Linked DNA regions of Homo sapiens: region 2 is linked to region 1. Evidence: promoter capture Hi-C in 16 types of primary human blood cells and fetal thymus (Javierre and others, 2016). All regions are on one chromosome and are shown on one strand. Each heading gives the region's core, a stretch centred on a gene start or on the middle of the fragment in contact. The rest is flanking DNA. Distances are from core to core; before and after follow the strand shown. Region 1 holds the start of CAMSAP2 (calmodulin regulated spectrin associated protein family member 2). Region 2 overlaps KIF14 (kinesin family member 14).

The links. The method cuts DNA at HindIII sites, captures the fragments that hold promoters and counts their contacts. A CHiCAGO score of 5 or more calls a contact.
Region 2: a contact is called between a fragment that was not itself captured here and the fragment with the promoter of CAMSAP2 in region 1, in 5 of 17 cell types (non-activated CD4 T cells, activated CD4 T cells, M2 macrophages and 2 more). The highest score is 7.0, in non-activated CD4 T cells.

Annotation. Positions count from the first base shown.
Region 1 is chr1:200,735,409-200,742,926 of GRCh38, reverse strand. It overlaps CAMSAP2 (calmodulin regulated spectrin associated protein family member 2), which reads right to left and starts at 4,034. Exons shown (of 17, transcript NM_203459.4): 1 at 2,961-4,034. The coding sequence starts at 3,099. RefSeq lists silencers at 3,225-3,294, 3,325-3,684 and an enhancer at 4,325-4,404. The HindIII fragment of the contact is 5,817 bases long and covers 1,266-7,082 here.
Region 2 is chr1:200,609,223-200,616,740 of GRCh38, reverse strand. It overlaps KIF14 (kinesin family member 14), which reads left to right. Exons shown (of 30, transcript NM_014875.3): 3 at 1,132-1,386; 4 at 2,336-2,423. Among named protein-coding and RNA genes, the nearest start is that of KIF14, 7.8 kb to the left of the region's middle. The HindIII fragment of the contact is 3,078 bases long and covers 2,450-5,527 here.

The DNA.
Region 1 (7,518 bases), core at 2,785-5,284:
ATTCAAGGCTCCTAAGACTTCAAATTAAGTAAATATTCCATATTTGCTTTCTAGGTATTACAACATCAGTGTTTTTTTTTTAAGTTCAATTACTTCATTCTATGCTCACATTTCTAGCTATCATTTTAAATGACTTTTACAACATATGGTTATAAAATTGACTACTTTTTCAGTACATCAAAAGTTAGAAAGTTTCTAATAGAAAACACCAAATCAGTGCCTGAAGACCCTGTAAGTCATTGTTAAAGGAGTGATTTTAGTAAATCATATTGAAAGCTGGGCTGATTTTTTGAACAACTAAATATAATTAGGTAATACCTTTGAAATATGCTATCTATTAACCTTTCCTGCATAAGTGTATCTGCAGCAAATAAAGAATATTTACATCAAAAAAATTCCTAATTTTTTTCTATTCACTCCATATAAATTTGTTTTGAAAGACTGTTGATAAAGAATAAACAAAATGTACAAACATAACATTCTTAATAATGTATTAATATATTGTTACTAAGTCACTCAAGGTCTTCTAAACTTGTTTTTCATCCCATTTGAATATGGTCTTTTCATCCATTCCAACTGCTGCCAAGGCAAATGTAATAGCCAACAATATCATCTATCTGAAAATGAATTAAGATTTGTACAATTTTTAAAGAAAAAATTAGACTTCAATATGTACTATGTGCACATTTTTCACACCTGCAGATAAAACGGTTACTCTGCAGAACGGTATAGAGTAATAAGCAAAGGCTTCAGAGTCAGACATGCAGAACACATCACTTGCCAGATGTTTAATCTTGTGCAAATTAATCTGTGAGCCAGTTACCTTATCTGCAAAATGAGAACAGTATCTACAGGGTTGCTGCAGGAATAAATGAAGTAATGTATTCAGAGTGCTGGGTATCTAACAGCAGTGTTCCACCTCCACCAATACCTTTACCCTTTTGAGTCAGACCTCAAATCAAAACTCACTTCTGCCACTTACTAACACTGTGATAGTAGGAAAGTTAACCTCTCTATGCACTGATTTCCTCCTATTTTTTAAATGGGGAACACACTACCTACATCAGAGACTTGTTATCAATCTCTAACGTACAACTTACTGCAAAGCATCCAGCAGAGTGCCTGGCAGACATCAGATTCCACTGATACTAGATTCCCTTCATTTCCTTTCTTCTTCAGGTGTGTTCAATATGTTCAAGTGGTCTAGAATCTACGAACCTGCCTGACACATACCCAGAAAGTAGGCCATTTTCTAGCTGGAAGCTTTTGTGTATGCATGGCAAAATTTTGATATCTGTATCCTATAAGTATCCTCTCAGTTCCAGATGGAAAGAAAATATTTCTCTTATTCCCTTTGCCTTCCACTTTATACATACTACTTTTCCACATAGGTGACTATGTAAATTTCCCTCTTTCCATGTTTTCTAAGCACTTAAATAGCCTTGATTTGCCATCCAAATAGATACCGGCTTCAGTGTGCTGCTTAAGTTAAAACCAAAATACATCTATTATTCTCACTGCTTATATCAGTGGTGCCAGAATGTTTTTATATAAAGGCAGTAACACTTTGTGTTTCTTCCTATGAGTTACGCTAGACATTCAATTTCAAAGAGATGTTTAAAATTTAAATAATTTGAAAAGGATTTACTATATTTATTCCTGATGCCAGCTTAATATCAAAGCATAAAAATTCAAGTAAAATTAAGGCTGCCATAAACATAAAATCACATCAATGTCAAGTTTCCCCAAAAACAAATTCAAATCATTTTCCAAACACTGAGATTAATCTGCTATTTAAGTAGGATGTGTAAGTCCTGAAAATACTCAGCTGTGTAAGTTTAAGCAGTAAAACTGAACTAAACCATTTACCAAAACATTACATAGTCCTAAAATTGGAAATTAGTCACCCTCCCCCTGAAAAACCCTATATTTAACATGTGGAAATTTGTGAGTACTAGGGAACTTTTCAACAAATATTTCATATATCTAAACTTCATTAACTAGGGAACAGAAATCTTGTAAAATTACTCTTAAAAGTTACCAAATTACAGAAGCATCTTCCAATGAAAAGCAGCTCTCTAATTTTTTTAACATTTCACAACATGGGCTCCTAAAGCAACACTAAAGAATCATAACGGGAGGCCCTTTTCCTGTTATTTTGCAAAGACTGGGTTATGGAGGGAGTGTTTAACTGCTACTGTACTATACAATTTCTGTGTCAACAGCACACGCCTTCGAAAAACTCATCTATTAAAAAACTTCCCAAAGTAGGGAGTTTTTGTTTCTTTTAATTTATGAAGCCAAAATACATTTGGAAAAAAGAATATGCCTCACTGATAATATGAAATGAAAACTGCACCCTACAGTCAGCAAACTGAACGCTGGTTTTAAATAACTGATTTAATAAGAACTTAACATGCGTGCAGAAGGCTGATACAGCCTTAAAGAATGACAACAAAAATTAATACTGCACTCGACACAGGCCACCTTACATCCAACGGAGCCTGAATAGCAGCCATCATTACAAATGTCAAAATCAATATAGTACTATGCACCATCCACCTTCTTGCAATAATAAAGAAACCAACTCAGATTTCTTGGTGGTGTAATCACAATTATGACTGAGGCAGAAATGTACGCAACACAATGAAGAAAATACCACAAATCAAAACCACTCTATGTAAAAACATAAAATTGCTCACTGGGGGATGGGGGGGACATTTTGCCATCCAATAAAAGGAATCTGGCCAAATCCCACCTGACCATTCACGTGCCCTTCATTGAAGACCAAACCTGCTTTCCTTATTTCTCCTTTCTTTCTCTTCCTAGCCTCCCATCATCTCCCTTAACCTGTACGAGAAGACAGGCACGGGGAGGGAGGGATTCGAGAATCGGGAACAAAAACCGAGATGTGGACCACATCAGGAGGAAGAGGGGAGGGAAAGGGTGACACCACTAACCTGTCCCAAAGGCTTTGGCCACCAGCCAGGCCAGATTGCAGGCGATTTTGGCCCTGGAGAAATCATAGTGGTCAAAAGGCTTGATGGCTGGAACAATGAACGTCTTTCTCATCTCCCTGGGGTCTGCAGCATCCCCCATCTTTCACCGCGGCTCCTCGGGATGTCCCGGCCCTAACCTTCACATGGCGTGGCCTCGCCACCACGGGGGTCGGGAGGGAGGGAGAAGCAAGCTCAAACCATCGGGGCCCGGGCGATGTCCGCCCGGGCGCCGACGGAGGAGAAGCTCAGCTGTCCGCGCCGCGCGCCTGCCGCCTCCCGCGGGAGCCGCCGCCGCCGCCGCCGCCGCTCCCGGGCATAGGAATGTGGCGGCGCCGTCTCCGTCCGTCCGTCCGCGCGAGGTCCGCCCCGTGCCCGCGCCCCTCCGAGCCACCCGCCCCGCGAGCCCGCGTGTGAGCGAGGCCGCCTCCCCTTTGTCTCGGTTTAGTCACACGGGCTTGGGGGAGGGTGGAGGCTGGAAGGGCCCGGAATTTTAAGGGAGGGGGGATGGGGGGAGCCTTCAACAATCACGTTGTGGAAAATGTCCCCGCCATCGCGATGCCCGCACGCCCTCGCCTCCCTCTCCCCTTCCCTCGGAGCGGGGAGACCCCTCAGGCCCCGGGTGGGCGGAGGGACGAGCAGGACGAGGGGGAAGCGCGGGGCGAGCTGGCCCACCCAGCGCAGCCCGGCCCCTGCCCGCCGGAGACGCAGCAGCGGAAAACGTCAAAATCACTGCGGCTCACAGGCCGCCGCCGGCCCGTCCCCTCCTCTGTGCTCCCTCCCGTCGCCGTCTCCTCCTTCCCCTGCCGCCGTCGCCGCTGCCGTCTCCCGGGTCTTCCTCCCTTGCTGACGGCGAAGGTGGTGGCCGGGGAGAGGCCGCGAATCCCAAGCTCTCAGTTCCTGTCTTATCAGTAATGTCCTTGTAATTTTTTCCTGCCCCCCTTTCTGCAGCTCGCTGGATCGTTCCCCCTCAGCCGCCGCCGCCGCCGCTGCGGTTTTCCGGCTGCGGCACTGGATGAAGGAGCAGATGCGGAGACTGAGCATGCGCCTTCGCGCGGCTCCGACCCACCCCCCCCAACCCCCGCCCCCGCCCCCGCCCCCTCCCCGCTTCCCTCCCGTCTCCGGCCCACTGAGCATGCCCAGCCTCGCTCCCCGCCCGCGCCCGGGATTCGGGGCGGCTGCCTTTTAATCATCGCTCTGGAGTACTCGCTTCAGTGGACATCCTCCACGTCCCTGGCTTTTGGCTGCTGCTGCCTGCACTGCTGAGAGAGGAAAAGGAAGGGAGGGAGGAGGGAGAGGCCTGGCAATAGCTTTCGTATTCTACTTACACAGTGCTTCATCGAAAAGAGTTGATATTTACTTAAAATGTTCATTATGTGACACACACTTTGCAGCGAACTTGACCTGCACTATCTCATTTAGCCCTCGCAATAATCCTGAGAGGTAGATGTCATTGCTGATTGTCCACGAAAGAGAGGTGGAGTTGATTAGGTCATACATGGAACTTAACCAGGATTGAGGATCTGTGGGGGCTCCAAACCTGTGTTAATTTCATGATATCGAGATATTTTCTTAACTCAGTGCTCTCCACTTAAATTTTATCTCTGAGAGGGCACACGTCCAACAATGCCTCCCCATTCTCTCAGAAAAGAGCATAAATTCTTTCACAAAACAAGCTAATGCCCTTTGTGATCTGGCATCTACAGGCCTTTATAGCTTCATTTTGTCAGAACTGCTCTCTATTTTCTTCAATGAGCATGCCTTCTCAGATCTCTACCTCCTTGCTCAGGGTGGTTCCTCTGTCCACCCAGCTTACTCCTACTGCACCTTCAAACTCCACAGTAGTCACTTCCTCCATGAAGCCTTCCCTGACAGCTGCTGACAACTTTCCAGTCAGGGCTGTCACACAGGTGCCTCCCCTGTTGTTCCCGGAGCACCCTGTTCTTATTTCTGTCGTAGCATCTGTCACATCGTGTGGCAATAATCAGTTACTTGTCGGTTTTTCCCATTGATGACATGATGACAGGGTATATCTCCAGCAGCTATACGGTGCCCAGCCCCATAGTATAATTGCTCAATTAATGGACTACATGTGAATATTATCAAAGTTAACACATACTGAGCTTACTTAAATCACTAGCTCCTCACGTCTCATTTTAATACATTATCTAATTTTATTTTTAAGTGATTGTTGTTGTTATTATTATTATTATTGAGACGGAGTCTTGTTAAGTCGCCCAGGCTGGAGAGTGGTGGCAAGATCTCAGCTCAGTGCAATCTCCACCTTTAGGGCTCAAGCGATTCTCCTGCCTCAGCCTCCTGAGTAGCTGGGACTACAGGCGCGCACCACCACGCCCAGCTGATTTTTTGTGTATTTAGTAGAGATGGGGTTTCACCATGTTGACCAGGCTGCTCTCGAACTCCTGACCTCAGGTGATCCGCCAACCTCAGCCTTCCAAAGCGCTGGGATTACAGATGTGAGCCACTGCGCCCAGCCTATTATTATTATTTTTTGAGACAGGGTCTTGCTTTGTTGCCCTGGCTGGAATACAATGGCAAAATCACAGCTCACTGCAGTCTCAACCTCCCAGGCTCAAGCAATCCTCCCATCTCAGACTCCCATATAGCTGGGATTACAGGCACACATCACCACACCCAGCTAATTTTGTTTATTTTTTGTAGAGATGAGGTCTCCCTATGTTGCCCAGGCTAGTCTCAAACTCCTGGACTCAAGGGATCCTCCCACCTCAGCCTCCCAAAGCGCTAGCATTATCTAATTTTAATCATTATAAAATCCTGTATTATCTTCATTATACAGATGAGAAAACTAAGGCTCAGAAAAAAAAATTAATTACTCTTATTCTGCACAACTAGTAAAGGCAGAGGGCAGCTCCATCAAAAAGCAGGTCCCTTTGTTTCTGTTTAATCCCTGTAAACACTCCTCCTTAAACCTAGTAGGACACAACAGATGAGGCTTGCTAACAATGTGGGATATGAAAAGAATTTGAAAATAATAATATGCCAGAGGGTGGTTGATGTAATTTTTCCAATAATTTAATTAATATTAATAGGGTTTTTCTCATGGGCAAGGAAGGCCCTTTGCTGTATCACATGGAGGTTAATAAAATTAACAGATAGATAACAACTCACAAAGCATGTTCATATGATAACTAATTTCCATATCTATTTTATGAAGTAGGAATTATTATTGTCTTCCAATTCTAGATGCAGGACTGAGAATTGCAAAGATTAAGTGGCATGGCCAAGATTTCATGGTTGATTCATATCTGAGTCTGGCTTCAAATTCAAGCACAGGTCTTCTGGCTCCACTCCTCTGGCACTTTTCCCTGTGCCTGCTCTCTTTCCGCATTATGGAGGCTAACATGTACATAAATAAATTTATAATACAATGTAAAAGTGATAAGTGCTGTAAGAGATATAAAGTGCAGTCAGGGGCCAAGCACAATGGCTCATGCCTGTAATCCCAGCATTTTGGGAGGCTGAGGCAGGTGGATCACTTGCGGTCAGGAGTTCAAGACCAGCCTGGGAAACATAGCAAAAACCTGTCTCTACTAAAAGTACAAAAATTAGCCAGGCCTGGTGGCACACACCTGTAATCCCAGCTACTCATGAGGCCAAGGCACGAGAATTGCTTGAGCCCAGGAGACAGAGATTGCAGTGAGCAGAGATCGCACCACTGTACTCCAGCCTGGGCAACATAGCAAGATTCTGTCTCAAAAAAAAAAAAAAAAAAAAAAAAAAAAAAGGCCGGGTGCGGTGGCTTATGCCTGAAATCCCAGCACTTTGGGAGGCTGAAGGAAGGTGGATCACAAGGTCAGGAGTTCGAGATCAGCCGTGCCAAGATGGTGAAACCCCATCTCTACTAAAAATACAAAAATTAGCTGGGCGTGGTGATGTGCGCAAGTAGTCCCAGATGCTTGAGAGGCTGAGGCAGGAGAATTGCTTGAACCTGGGAGGCGGAGGTTGCAGTGAGCTAAGATCATGCTACTACACTCCAGCCTGGGCAACAGAGCGAGAATCCATCTCAAAAAAAAAACAAAAACAAAAAACAAACCAAAAAAAGCTTGCAGGCAGACCATATATAGGTGGAGGGATTGGGAAGGTTTCTTGGAGACATCTGTTGAATCTAATGTTCTCAAATGCAACTTTGACTGAATTCTAGAGCACATAAATCATGTTAGGAAGAACCTATAGCCCAGAAAGGTTGAAGAGAGATACTGAAACATTTTACCAGTCATTATAATAATCTGCAAGCCAATACAAGATTCTCAGGGCCAGAAATCGTGCCTAATCACCTTGATGTTGCATGTGACCTAGCACAGTAGTTTGCTCTCAATGGGTGCTGGGTAAATACTTGTTGGATTTCATTGAAAACTATTTCAACCTAAATGAACAAGACAAGGAAGAGAAGGAAACAAAGTAAGTTGCTGCAACTTGTCCCTTGATTCAATGGTGATGCATTTAGTAGAGATGGCATTACTAGAACCCCAACTGGGAAGGA
Region 2 (7,518 bases), core at 2,739-5,238, 130 kb after region 1:
TAATTGTTTTAAAATATTTTAATGTAGTTGTTTAAAATATTTTAAGGGACAGTGAAAAACTTCACAGAGTTAGTAGTGTTTAACTTGAAGCTGTGTATCTAAGCAAGTTAGAAGAGGATTTGGTGACCACTGCATCAGGGCAGGAACCTCCAGTTTGAACCTAAGGGGTCAGTAGTTAAAGGCAAGTTATACAGTACTGTAGAATCTTTTTCGTGCAAATGGGTTAGTATTAAGAGGGAGAACTGAGGGTGAGTTGGTTTGAGAGAATTGGAATGTCTAATAGAGCCTCAAGAACCATGATAGGAAGAGAAACAATAGAAAGAGCTGGTAGGGACAAAATGCAAGATGGATGACTATACTGAACTTAGTAAGGGACCAAGTGCCTGATTCCAAACTCATCAGACAAGCCTTGAAAGCAGGGCCAGGGTAGAGTACTTGTCAAATTGATGAGGCAGGTGTTTTTTCCAGAATAAATTCTGATTTAAAGCAGTCTCAGAGTCAGGGATGGAGCGGGGAGGGAGTGTATATCTGGAGCCAGACAAAGAGTGATGATGTTTTTCTGTAGATCTAAAGTAAATGAAAGATTTCCACCTAAGTCTCAAAGGGAAAAAGGATATACAGAAAGATTCATGATTTTAAGGGAGAGAATCTAGAGGAAGGAGGAGAGATCTTTAGTAGCCAAGAGAGACTTATGATTGAAACTTACAGTCAACTGAGTTTGTTAAAATTAGATATTTGTATTTTATGCCAGCTTTATTTAGATTGGTACCCCCCCAAATTTGTATAATAAAGATGTAGATTTGGATGAAGAGTATAGGTAGATTATAGTAGGTGGGATGGGAAAAGGTATAGTTCAAGAGAAAAAAAAAAGAGGAAAAAATCTTGTAAAAGTAGGATAGGTTTTCTGGAGGAATCTGGGATTTTCCCTTTGGTGGCACTGGAGCCTCAGGAAATATATTTTGGAAACCCACTAGAATTATGTTTGCTTATCTGCATTTTCCACATAAAACTACAGAATTATCTTGCCTTGGAAGATTGTTTAAATAGTTTTGAGGTATTTATTATGTTCTGTGAGAATAATACCCTTGATCATTTTAGTTACTTGATTTTTTTCTTTGTGCTTCTTTCAAGAGAGAAGATTGAAAAAGCATCCCAGGTAGTCTTCATGAGTGGGAAAGAAATAACTGTGGAACACCCTGACACGAAACAAGTTTATAATTTTATTTATGATGTTTCATTCTGGTCTTTTGATGAATGTCATCCTCACTACGCTAGCCAGACAACTGTCTATGAGAAGCTAGCAGCACCACTCCTAGAAAGAGCCTTCGAAGGCTTCAATACCTGTCTTTTTGCTTATGGTCAGACTGGCTCTGGAAAATCATATACGTAAGTTGTATTGGAAATGCAATTATCCAGAAGTGTTTAAATATACTTTTGTGAGAAGTGGCATAGGGGTGATAGAAAGAATATAGTTTTGAAATCACACAGATCTTGGCCCAAATCTCATCCATTTTATATACCAGTTCTGCAAACTTGGGCAATTTACTTAGCCTCTGGGCTTCAGTTTATACATTTACCTTGATACAATTCATCTTGTAATTATCATTGGCCCCATTTTACTGTACTTTATATATTTTACATAAACTAAGGCCTAGAGAGGTTATCTTTTAAGTATTTTGGTGAGAATTAAAAGTAAGGCATCTAAGCTAGATGTGATGGCACACACCTGTAGTCTCAGCTACTTGGGAAGCTGAGGTAGGAGGATTGCTTAAGTGCAGGAGTTCGAGTCCAGCCTGGGCAACTTAGTCCCCATCTCTTAAGAAAAAAGGGTGGAGGGGCATCTGATAAATGGTAGCTATGATAATAATACCTGTCCTAGAAAGAAATACTCAGCATTTTAACAGTAGCTAACATTTGAGTTCTTTTTTTTTTTTTTTTTTTTTTTTTTTTGTAGCAAGGTTTGTTGTGAAGAGCGAAAGAACAGAGCTTCCACAGTCCACAGCGTGGAGGGGTCCCAAGCGGGTTGCCCAACATTTGAGTTCTTACTATATTCCAGACACTGTGCTAAAGACTTTGCTTATATTCTTTCACAACAATTCTCTGAATTAGATAGTTGTATTATTCCTGTTTTACAGTAGAGGAAATTGAAGTTTAGTGAGGTTAAATATCTTGGAGTCAAGATTTGGACTCAGGCAGATTTGACTCCAGAGTCCAGATTCTTAATTATGAGATTCAGTGAACTTGCTTCCTACTCCCTTCCCAGCCTATTTCCCCAAAAAGAATTTTAAAGAAAGAATTAGTTTTATTTCCCCCTTATTCATAATGTATTTTTCAGGATGATGGGATTTAGTGAAGAACCAGGAATAATTCCAAGATTTTGTGAAGATCTTTTTTCTCAAGTAGCCAGAAAACAAACCCAAGAGGTATGTTCTTATAATACCTGCAAGCTTCTTTTCAGAGTAGAAAATAGTCAAATCAAGTTCAAATCAGTCATGGCCACTAAGGAAATACTTAATGGAAGATCAGTTCTAATTTGTAGATCACTCTTCTTTGGAACAGTGGTATGGAGAGGGAGGGTGGAAATTCTAAATTCAGAATCAGTTTCACCTAGTGGGCAGTGATAGTGAAGTCATCTCTTCTGTCTTTTCTCCCTTGTTTTTGCTTTACTTTTGTGTATACGTAGAGGCTCACAAACATGGTAGCTATGTGCTGTTATACGTGTGTTTGTAGTCAGATAGGTGTACAGTTTAACTAAGGACAGCAGGCATAACCTTTTGGACAACGTGAATCAGAAAGAGTAGTGAAATTGGGATTTGAACCCAGAGTTGACTTCAAAAGCCATGCTTTTTCCACTCTACTACACCTGAATAGGCTGTACTGGCTTCCTATTTCACTTATTCATTTACACATTCAGCTACCTTTTACTGAGCATTCTGCTGTTGCCAGGCAGCTTGTTAGATCAGTTTTTTTTTTTCTCAAATTTTCTTGGTCATAAGAATCACCGGGGATTCTTGGCAGGGACATATATGTGCATGTGTATGTGTATGTACACACTTGCTAAAAATCTCTTCTGGGGGTTCTGAGTCAGTTGGTCTGGTGTAGAGCTTGGGATTTTATAATTTTCATGCTTTTCCTCCAGTATTTTTTATGATAAAGGAAATTGGGAAAATTGTGCTAGATTAGGGGTGTGGAGTTAAAAGACCCAGTCCCTGTATTCAAAGGAGTGTAGTGGGAGAAATAAGTTAACAGCCAAGTACAATCAATTAAATGCTAAACAAACTAAAGTAGATGCTCTAATAGAACATGTAAGTGAGGACATATAAAGTTGGAGGGAGACATTCTCTCAGAGGAAGGAGCAGCTGAGCTTATTTTTGAAGGATACATAGCATTATTAGCTTGGTAAAGAAGGGGAGAAGGATATTCCAGGGAGAGGGAGCAGCATGTACCAAGATTTGAAAGCAAAAAAGTAGGGAGCCTTTGGGAATCTATAAATTGTTCACTGTGTTTTGAGCATGGAATTTGAGGGTGGAAAGTGATAAGAGAAGAAACTAGAGGCTGGGTGCGGTGGCTCATGCCTGTAATCCCAGTACTTTGGGAGGCCGAAGCGGGCAGATCACCTGAGGTCAGGAGTTCGAGACCAGCCTGGCCAACATGGTGAAATCCTGTCTCTACTAAAAATACAAAAATTAGCCAGGTGTGGTGGCACATGCCTGTAATCCCATCTACTTGGGAGGCTGAGGCAGGAGAATCGCTTGAACCAGGGAGATGGAGGTTGCAGTGAGCCGAGATCGCGCCACTGCACTCCAGCCTGGGTGACAGAGCATGACTCCATCTCAAAAAAAAAAAAAAAAAAAAAAAAGAGAATAAACTAGAAAGGCCTGCAGAACTTGGCTCATGAAGGACTGTCTTAGTAAGGATAACTGGTAAGACTTGCTGATTATTGGAAATGGAGGATGAGGGAGAGAGAAATCAATGTTTCTGGTTGGACAACCAGATTAGATATCGATGTCATTTTTTGAGATCACAAGAGGAAAAGTAGATTTGAGTAATTGATGAGTTCTGTCTCTTCTGTGGATATACTGCCTCTCCTCTGTCTTCTTCTACCCTCAACCTCTCATTCCCAGTAATTAAATTGAAAATAGGAGGAGTATGGGGATCAATAGAAATATGGTGGTATTGAGACTATGAGATGAAATATGATTCAAGTCCAAGTTTAGTGGGCATAAGAGAAAGCTGTGGGCTTGTGGGGCAGAGTTCTCTATTGGCTCTCCAGATTTTAGAGGGATAGTAATTTGAAGGTAAAGCCAGGAAGACATAGATAAGTGTAGTGGAGGCAAAGGTCTTTGGAATGATTTCAAAGGACTAGGAGGCTCAGATTTTGCGTGGAATGACTATGTCATTGAATAACATAGTGTAATGAATGCTTAAGAGCCTGGTTGGCCAGGCATGGTGGCTCACGCCTGTAATCCCAGCACTTTGGGAGGCCAAGGCAGGCGGATCACCTGAGGTCAGGAGTTTGAGACCAGCCTGGCCAACATGGTGAATCCCTGTCTCTACTAAGAATACAAAAATTAGCCAGGTGTGGTGGTGGGCGCCTGTAATCCTAGCTATTCGGGAGGCTGAGGTAGGAGAATCGCTTGAACCCTGGAGGCGGACATTGCACTGAGCTGAGATCATGCCACTGTACTCCAGCCTGGGCGACAGAGCAAGACTCTGTCTCAAAAAAAAGAAAAAAAAAAAGAGCATGGACTTTGGAGATACATTATTTGAATTTGAATCTCAGCTTCATCACTGCAGTAGAAATGTGATCTTGAACAATTTACTTAATGTCTTTCTGTGTTTCAGAACAGAAAATAGAGATTATATTGACAATGTCTTTCTCATAGGTTTGTTGTGAGCATTAAATGAGTTGATCTATACAAAAGGTTTTGAAGAGTGCCTGGCACATAGTGAGCCCAACTAAATGTGGTTATATCAACTTTGGAATTAGCCAGGATGGTAGAGAATAATAGTATGTGGATGGGGGTAATAGAAGGTGGTATAGCGAGCATGATGGCAGGAGCCTCAGAGGAGAAGAAAAAAGTAGGACCTCTCCAGTGTGGCCCCAGCTACCTTTTCCAATTTGTTTCCCACACTACATTTTCATTTCTAAGTCCTCCTGGAGCCTCTATAACATAAAATACTATTTTACATAAAATAAGCATTATTACGTGTTTATTGAATTCTGACAGCCCCCATCCCTGTTCATAGCATTTGTCAATGACCTTATAATTACTTGGTGTTCCCTTATACCTGGTCTCTTTGGAAGTGTTTTGTTTCTCTCTCATGACACCAGCTATATTCTGCCTTGTATTACTCATGTACTGTATTGCATCTCCAATTAGCTTCTGAGTTTTTTCAGGATAAAAACTATGTCCAGTTCATCTCATATTTTCCCACAGCTCCTAGAAGAGTGCTTTGTACCTAGTAGGGCACAATAAATATTTGGTGAATTGAACTTAAATCTCTTTGACACTCCCTTGAAGCTTCCAATTCTGTTAGATGCTTGCTGACTCACTTCTGGGTCAGTGGATGAAATTTATTTCTCTAATAAGGAAACCATGCCCTAACTGTCAGAAGAGCTGTTTGGAAGCAAAGTTTCCCGTTTTTGGCCTCTACACTGTATCTTTCAGAGTCAAAAGGAGGAGAAGCTCAGCCCACTTAATCTAATGATTGCTTTCTCTCCCAATCAGGAAGAATTGTTGATTTAAGGTTCCATCTTACCAGATCAAATGTCAACCTACAGGGTGTCTTTCCTATTCTGAGCACATGTGATGCACAGATGCTGCTGTCCTTGCCCGAGAATGCCCTACCCCCTCTTTCTGGTTCAATCTACTCTGTCTCTCATGCCTCACATTCTATTTACTCCTTCCCTTTTCTCTGGCCATCCTAAATTTTCCCTTTTCTGATTAGTCATATTTATAGTCATCTCATTTTGATTCTTAATTAATTTTCTATTGCTGTGTTTTATCTATTGGAAGGTATGTTATATGTCTCTGAGATCTTAGCCTCATGAGCAAGAATCTTGTCTTATACTTCTTTATGTCCTGACAATAACCTAAAGCCAAACATGCAGTAGGTAGGTACTTAAGAAATGCTTATTGGATTGAATTGAACCTTATGCAGAAGTTAAGAAGAAATGCAAGGACTTTTGTTGTTATTCATATTAAATTTTTTTTTTTTTTTTTTTTTGAGAGGAAGTCTCGCTCTGTCACCCAGGCTGGAGTGCAGTGGCGCGATCTTGGCTCACTGCAAGCTCTGCCTCCCGGGTTCATGCCATTCTTCTGCCTCAGCCTCCTGAGTAGCTGGGACTACAGATACCCGCCACCACGCCCGGCTAATTTTTTGTATTTTGTATTTTGTATTTTTGTATTTTAGTTTCACCGTGTTAGCCAGGATGGTCTCGATCCCCTGACCTCGTAATCCACCTGCCTTGGCCTCCCAGAGTGCTAGGATTACAGGCGTGAGCCACCGCGCCCAGCCAAAATTTTTTTTATTGAGATCAAATTCACATAACATCAAATTAACCACTTTAAAGTATATAATTCAGTGGCATTCAGTACATTTATAATGTACAACTGTTACTTCTAGTGCCAAAAAATTTTCATTGCCATCAAAGGGGACCCTCTACCCATTAAGCAGTCACAATCCATTCCCCCTTCTTCCCAATCCCTGGCAACTACTAGTTTGCTTTTGTTCTATGAATTTACCTGTTCTGGAAATTTCATATAAATGGAATCATGCAATATGTGGTATTTTGTGTCTGGCTTCTTTCACTTAGCATAATGTGTTGAGGTTCATCTACATTGTAGCACATACAGTACTTCATTCCTTTTAATGGTTGACTAATATTTCATTGTACAGATATTGCCAGTTTTGTTTATCCATTCATCAGTTGATGGACATTTGGGTTGTTGTTTATACCTTTTGGCTATTGTGAATAGTCCTTCTGTGAACACTGGTGCATGTTTTTGTTTGAATACCTGTTCTCAATTGTTTTGGATGTATAGGAGTGGAATTTCCAAATTTCTATGGTGATTCTTTTTCTTTTTTGAGATGGAGTCTCACTCTGTCGCCTAGGCTGGAGTGCAGTAGCACAATCTCAGCTCACTGCAACCTCCACCTCCCAGGTTCAAGCGATTCTCCTGCCTCAGCCTCCCGAGTACCTGGGATTACAGGCGCCCGGCACCATGCCCAGCTAATTTTTGTATTTTTAGTAGAGGTGTGGTTTCACCATGTTGGCCAGGCTGTTCTTGAACTCCTGACCTCAAATGATCCTCCCACCTCGGCCTCCCAAAGTGCTGGGATTACAGGTGTGAGCCACTGTGCCCGGCCCGGTAATTCTATTTTTAACCTTTCAAGGAACTGTCAACTATTTTCCACATTGGCCGCACCATTTTACATCCACTAGCAATGGAGGAGGGTTCCAGTTTCTCCACATCCTCACCCACACTGGTTGGTTTTCACTTCTTATTATTA